2 separate regions of the Homo sapiens genome follow, and region 1 is linked to region 2. The links are contacts of gene promoters, found by promoter capture Hi-C in blood cells and fetal thymus (Javierre and others, 2016). All regions are on one chromosome and are shown on one strand. Each heading gives the region's core, a stretch centred on a gene start or on the middle of the fragment in contact. The rest is flanking DNA. Distances are from core to core; before and after follow the strand shown.

Region 1 (3,397 bases), core at 74-2,573, 570 kb after region 2:
CCAAATATTTTTCCATTTGCAGTTTGCTGAAGCTGTGGATGCAGAACCCATGAATATGGAGGGCCAACTGTATTTTGTAGGCAGTTGAAAACATTGCCCTGGAGCTCAGGAGATGGCTCTGGCTGGAGAATTCATGCCAAGGGCAGCCTATAGATGGAAGCAGAAGGCATGGGTGTAGATGATTTAGCCTATGGATAGTGGGCAGACAAAAGGGAGAAGACATTAAGAACAAAACTCTGCGGAGAAAACTCCAGTTTAAAGGATTAATAGGAGGACTAGGATCTGCAAAGGAGGCTAAGAAGGAATATGTAAGAAGTAGAAAGAAATGCAGGAGAGTGAAGTTATTGATGCTAAAGTAAAAGGGACTCTGGGTGACCAACAGTGTCACAGGCTGGAGGGTGGGCAAATGTTTGCTCTTCGGTCTGGGTTGGCCTGTTCTTTGCCCTTTGGGCTGGTGATAAGAGGGGGCAGGGAAGAAGTGGGAGAGAGACAGGGAGCACCAGGACCTGTTAGTTCTGGAGACTGGTATCCTGGGGACTGCATTCCCTGCTGTGGTGACCATTCCCCTCCTCCCCGCTGCTCTGGCTGGGGAAGGTCACTTTGTTTTGCCCCATGTTGTTAGGAGTCTCCTGTGATGCCTCCTTCCGGCCACCGCCCAGCCAGGGGAAATGTACCTGGCATTTTCGTCCGTCCACGCTCCTGAGGTCCTCCTCAAACTCCACTCCCACATCAAACTGCACAGTGTAGTTTCGGAAGGTGCTGAGCGTCCTCACCGTCATGTGGTTGCCCTGGTGTTCGATCTCCTTGTCCGGCTTCAGCAGCAGCGCGATCTTCCGCACAGCCAAGCTGATGTCTGTGGGGGCTGCCTGTTAGTAGGGGTGCTGCTAGCCAGCCAGGAGCTCCTCTGCCTGCAGCAGCCCCTCAGGGCTGTGAGTTTCCCTTCTTTGGGTCTGGGACTGTGGATTCACCCCCTCCTACCAATGCCTGGTTAGAAATGGATCCCAGGTCTGGTGCCAGCCGCCTGAGCCTTTCCACAGTGTCCAACCCCGGGCATTCCCTCTTCTCCATGGGACCAAGAAGCAGGAAGGAAGAGGGGAGAAAGGGAGTGACAGGGGTCTGGGAGGGCGAGGCCATTACTTAGGGCTTGCAGGTAGTCCTCCATGTTCTTCTGCGAGACAAAGCGGTAGTAGCCAGTGAGGTTGGGAGGCATTGTGTGGATGAAGGTTTCAGGAGAATGCAGGAGACAGGGTGAGGAAGGAGGGGGTGTTGTCTGGCAGGTGAGGCTGAGAGATTCCAGCCAGCTCCACACACAGAGACAGGATGTGTAATGGCCGGGTTACCAGGGCTTTTTATAAGGCTGGGGCCCTGTTGCAATAAGAGTCCCTACCAGACTTCTTCCCTCCCCGCATGGTGAGTTTGGGGGTGGTGTCTCCAGCCTGAAGGAGGGGCAGGGATTTGGCAAAGTTGCGCCTGACCTTGGCTTTTCCTGAGGAAGGAACCTGGAGCAGGATCCTTCCTGAGGAAGGAACCTGGAGCAGGATCTGGGGCTGTCAGTCATCCAAAACTCAGCCATCCAAAGGTCAGTGTTGGCCTCCACCTCATTTCTGGCAGGCTTGGGAACCGTCCCAGGGCCTGAGGGGCAGTCTTTCCTGGGAGACACCTGAGGCTGGTCTGGCTGTGTGAGGTGGAGATGAGTTCCAACAATATCCTGAGATCCTGGGACTGAGTGATGTTGGAAGATGTGAGGGGAGGGGGTGAGGATGGCCAGCTGCCACCATGAAGAGCACCCTGTAGGCCTGGCTCTCAGAGCTCCCTCAGGTAGTGTGCTCAACTGGGACCCCAAAGTGGCATTCCAGACTCTTGGTCCTAAAGAGCCATTAGGAGGGAGGTGGAGCCCGAGGGGTGCTGAGTTCAAAGTCCGGAACAGACAGCCTGAGAGGAGTTTGTTGGCTATTCTGGAGAATTTTATTCTTTTTGGCTTGGGACCCAGGGGGTTTTCTCTCCCTCTGAGTCATCGATGAGACCGTAACCCCCAGTCCCCAGCCCTAGGACAGCCCATGCTTTCCAGATGTATTTCTGTGAAGGTGGGGTGGAGGCGCCTAAATAATATTGTGCCCCGCCCCCAGCTGCCCAATTCTCTCTCGAACCTGCCATCGTCCCGGGCTTCAGAATCCACTGGGCTTGGTTCATCATGGTTTAAGGTGAAATTCGGGGCGAAGGAGGCAGGACAGGTAGGCAGGAGGAGGCGGCCGGTCCCGACAGGTGCGTGCGCGAGGGGTGCACGACGTCCTGCCCCTCCTTGGGTCCCAGAGCCTCGATACCGCCCTGCGGACCGCCCTGTGGCTTCCTCGCAGCCCTGGGCTACAAATGCCAGGATTTCTCAGGCTCAGACTGAGGGTTTTACTTCACCCTTCCCAGAGGGCACGCAGCACGGATCTGTGGATGGAAGGGGCTGTGGAAACAGGTTATGGCAGAGTTGGGGGGCGGGGTGACGCGGTGCCACCCCTCCTGGCCGCCCTCAGGTCCCGCTGACGTCTCTCTTCCCCACCCCCTGGCTTCTGGCTTCTTTCTCCCCACGTCCCTCTTCTTTCCCACCCCCTCCGTGGCTCTCCAGCTTCCTCCCCAGCCCCCGCAGTTCCTCGGCTCCCCCAAAATTGCAGCCAGGGGAAGGAGCCTTGAAACTCTCCAGCCCCGACGCCCCAGTCTCATTGGCTCCCTCCCCCGCTGCAGCACCTGGTCCCCCCCCCTCCCAGTCACCTGATTGGCCGGCGGCCCCATCAATCGTTGCCCGGCTGTGCTGACGTCATCCTGCAGTAGCGGGGTTGGGGTGGGAGTGAGAGAGTGAGGACGCTGGGCTGGGGGAAACGGGAAGCCGCTGCAAGTCCACCGCCTCAGCTACCCAGATTGGGATCTGCCCAGGCCCGCTTTATGGACTAGTGTGGGCGGCAGGCTCCTTTCCGTCCCTGCCCTGCTGTACCCCGCTCCTTGGAGACCCCCTGTATCCCTCCCGCAAGGTGGAATCCGCAGGCTGGAGGCTCCCAGGGGAGGCAAACGCCTGGCCCTGCCCTGCCCCACGCCGCACCATGACCCTCCTGCTGCTGCCCCTTCTGCTGGCCTCTCTGCTCGCGTCCTGCTCCTGTAACAAAGGTGAGTGAGGTGGGGGTGGGGGTACCGAAAGAGGGGCGTCGGGCAGCGCCGTGCGGGGTGGGGGTGGGAAGGAGGTGTCGAGGCTCCCTGGCACCTGACAGGTGTCTGGCCCTCTTCTGATCACCCTCCTTCCCATCCGTTCTCAGACCTGCTCCGTCTCCTCTCTTTCTCTTCCCCCAGCTACATCTTCCTTTCTGGTCCATCTCTACCCATGCGTTTCTCTTGCTGGTCATCTTGCTCCCATTTGGTC
Region 2 (3,277 bases), core at 693-3,192:
AAGCCTGCTGATCTGTGATCTGGTAAACTCCAGCAGGGTGGAGATCCCTGAAGGTCGCCCCTAGACCCAGCGGTCATTTCCTAGAACATTCGGCCAATCCTCACCCAGTGCTGAATCTCCGCCACACTGGGCTGCATAGGTAGTTCCCAGGCCCGCCCACAAGGGGTCATAATAGCTGAGATGAGAGGGGAGGCCGCCAAACCAAAGCCTGTCAGTCACCCGCTCCCTCCTCAAGGCTTGGGTTGGAGTCTGCAAGACACTACCTCTGCTCTCACTCCTGTCCTATCGGCTTGGTTATCAGCCATCTAAGGAATCCACTTGGTATACAGCCAGCACTCCTGGCATCACATCCCTTTCCCTTGCCCCTTGGGGCCGGGCTCCTCTCAGACAGCCAAATCTTCATCCACAGAATGCACCGGGCCCGCCCCGCGGCCTCGCGGTCCTAGGGAGGGCCCATATCCCAGCTTCTCCCTGCTCAGTCCCCTGCTGGCTCTCCACTCTCCCTCCCCACTGGCGCTTTATACTGCCAAGATTCCCCTGTCAGCCCTGCTCTCCACCCTCACCCTAGTGAATTCCCTTCACTCTTTCTTTTCCCAGTTTGTTGACCTACTCAAGCAATGGCTTGAGGTCCCGGAGCTTTTCCTATGAAACCACAGCAGGTACCTGGTTTCCATCAATATTCTTTGGGAAACCTTGGGGTGTGAAAGAATCACTCGTTGCAAGGTACAGCCCCTCCCTCACCAGCCCCTTCCAGTTTCACTCAATTTAGTCTCCCAAATTTACGCTATATCCTTGCCTCCTACTTTTGAAGTTTATATCCCTAACCTGCCCCAGGGCTGAGACCGGTAGGGCAGAGCCCCAGTCCCTTTCACACCGCACAAAACCCGCAGTTAAGCCTGGATGGCAGAGACAAGCCGGAAAAGTAGGAATCCCCCCGTGTTCCGCTCCCAGCGTCCTTCTTCCTGTCACGAGCAGGGCTTCTGCATTCTCTGCGGATTCTAGTCTCCCTGCATCCAATTGCTTCCAAGCTCCTCATTACACAGCACAAACTTTACTCTCATTCTTTTCACCCCTGATTCTTCGGAACCCACACCAACTCGCGGCCCGTTGTGAGTGGTATGACACAGAGAGACCTGTCCCCCTTTCCCAATCCCTACCTCCGCTTGTACTCGTCCCGCTCCCGCTTCACTTTGGCCAGCACGTTGTAGAGAGCGCGGATCTCGGGCGTGATGGTGTCGATCTGGACGCCCACCCCATCCGGGTGCACCCACGACAAGCCAGGCCCTTGCACCAGAGTGGGCTCCAGTCCCGGCCCGAGCCGGCGGGCGTGCGAGAACGACCAGATGGTGCCGGGCATGAAGCGGGCCGACGAGGAATAGGTGGTGGAGGTGGAGGTGGAGGACGACGAGAGGCTGGCCGCGGAGGGCGCGAGGGGGCCGGCCGGGGAGCGCGCGGGCGAGCCCAGCACGCGCGCCGAAGGGCTGCAGACAGCGGCCGGCCGGGCGCCCAGCTGCAGCCCCAGGGGCCGGATGGGGCTGACGAAGCCGGTCTGCACTGCCTGGTCGCGACGACCCAGGCCCCGCCGGCCCTGCTTACCCTCCTCCAGCGCTTGCTGCAGTTGCTTCTCCAACAGCCGGTTCCGGCGCTCCAGCTCATGCACCTTGGCCAGGAAGCAGCGGAACCGGAGGTTCAGGGTCTTGAGCACGTTGATGTTGGAGCCCAGGTCATTGCGGAGGGCCATGGCGGCAGGCGGGGCCGGGCCCGGCCCGGGCGGCGAGTAGGCAGCAGGGCCGGCCGGCGAGAGAGGCGCCGGGGGCAAGTCTCCTCCCCCGGCGAAGTGGTCGCCTCCCAGTGAGTCCCCCAGTGGCCCGGCCAGGCCCTGCTGCTCCTGCTGCAGGAGGAAGAGGTTGGGGCCGAATAACGGATTCATGGCTGCGCCTTCTGCTGGGAGATGCAGACCGGTGCAGGAGCAGGGATGGAAGGCGAGCCAGAAGAGCCAATGCGGCGCCGGCGGGACAGAGCCGACCAATCAGGCGGCTCGGCAGCGGGGCAGAGGTCAGGGGGCGGGCCGAGGGGAAGCCAATGACAGGCTCCAATTGGAGGCCGGACCCTGGACCTTTCCGGGTCTGAGGCCGAGCCCTGTGATGAGGGGAGCCACCGCCTGGACTCCAGCCGGGGTGGCGTAAAGCCCAGGACCTCCAGTACCCCATGGGTTCTGGTGGCAAGCCCATCTCCCCTACACGACTTTTTTTTTTTTTGAGACCGAGTCTCACTGTCGCCCGGGCTGGAGTGCAGTGGCGCGATCTTGGCTCACTGCAACCTCAGCCTCCCAGGTTCAAGCGATTCTCCTGCTTCAGTCTCCCGAGTAGCTGGGATTACAGGCACCCGCCACCACACCCGGCTGATTTTTTGTATTTTTAGTAGAGACGAGGTTTCGCCATGTTAGCCAGGCTGGTCTCGAACACCTGACCTCAGGTGATCCACCCGCCTTGGCCTCCCAGAAAGTGCTGGGATTACAGGCATGAGCTAGTGTGCCCCGCCTTCCCCTACACTTCTATTGCCCTCCTCTCCCCGGAGTTCAATCACCCCTAGCTCTGACTCCAGGGCTTTCCCTTCCTGGGAAAACCCAAGGATGCAGGAGCCTAAAACTGACCTTATTTCTCAGTAGCACCCAACCATTCCCTCTCCTCAGAAGATCCCAGTCCCACCTCCCATCTTTACCCTTAAAGCGGCAAAGGCAGCACCCAGTTCCCTCAAAAATACTCAGTGGCCAGAGGTTTTAAAATGTGTATTAAATTTCATGGGTATGCACAGTAGAGAAGGCATCCTCACAGAGGCAAGAGTTCCAACCTGGTGACAATGGCAGTGAGCCACCCGTCTAGTTTTCAACCATCTAAGATAGCAGCAGCTGGCTGTTGCCCCTGGACTGAGATTTCTTCCTCTTTGCTGGTGGGGGGCGGCTGGAACGGATGGGAGACACAGTGGGAGGCTGAGGCCCCTTGGGGGTATCATTCTGTTTCTGGAAGGCAGCTTTCTCAAAAGGCTGCTCTGGCAACTGCTGCTTCTCAACCCCCTTGGCCCTTCCAAGGGGCTGATGATGGTCCTTAGGTTTCAGGGTGGCCTGAGTCTTGGATGGGGATAACACAGCCGGTGTTTGTGTGTCTGTGCCCTTGGGAGGGGCATTCTGCCTGAGGAAAGCAACTTTCTTGGAGGACTGTAATTTAGGTGATCGTTGCTTTAGCTTCCCAGTCACCTTTGGCTCCCTGATCCCTTCGGC

What was found. Contacts are between HindIII fragments. The CHiCAGO score rates a contact against its expected background, and 5 or more counts as called.
Region 1: a contact is called between the fragment with the promoter of RBP5 here and the fragment with the promoter of IFFO1 in region 2, in 6 of 17 cell types (non-activated CD4 T cells, activated CD4 T cells, naive B cells and 3 more). The highest score is 9.1, in non-activated CD4 T cells.

What each region holds. Positions count from the first base shown.
Region 1 is chr12:7,127,566-7,130,962 of GRCh38, forward strand. RBP5 (retinol binding protein 5) reads right to left here and starts at 1,324. Exons shown (of 4, transcript NM_031491.4): 1 at 1,138-1,324; 2 at 675-853. The coding sequence starts at 1,210. CLSTN3 (calsyntenin 3) reads left to right here and starts at 2,806. Exons shown (of 18, transcript NM_014718.4): 1 at 2,806-3,147. The coding sequence starts at 3,084. RefSeq lists a silencer at 2,563-2,662 and an enhancer at 3,104-3,397. The HindIII fragment of the contact is 14,463 bases long and covers 1-3,397 here.
Region 2 is chr12:6,554,100-6,557,376 of GRCh38, forward strand. It overlaps IFFO1 (intermediate filament family orphan 1), which reads right to left and starts at 1,943. Exons shown (of 10, transcript NM_001193457.2): 1 at 1,158-1,943. The coding sequence starts at 1,930. It overlaps NOP2 (NOP2 nucleolar protein), which reads right to left. Exons shown (of 16, transcript NM_001258308.2): 16 at 2,772-3,277. The coding sequence ends at 2,894. RefSeq lists enhancers at 1-419, 420-920 and silencers at 1,381-1,560, 1,671-1,910, 1,961-2,120. The HindIII fragment of the contact is 7,963 bases long and covers 1-3,277 here.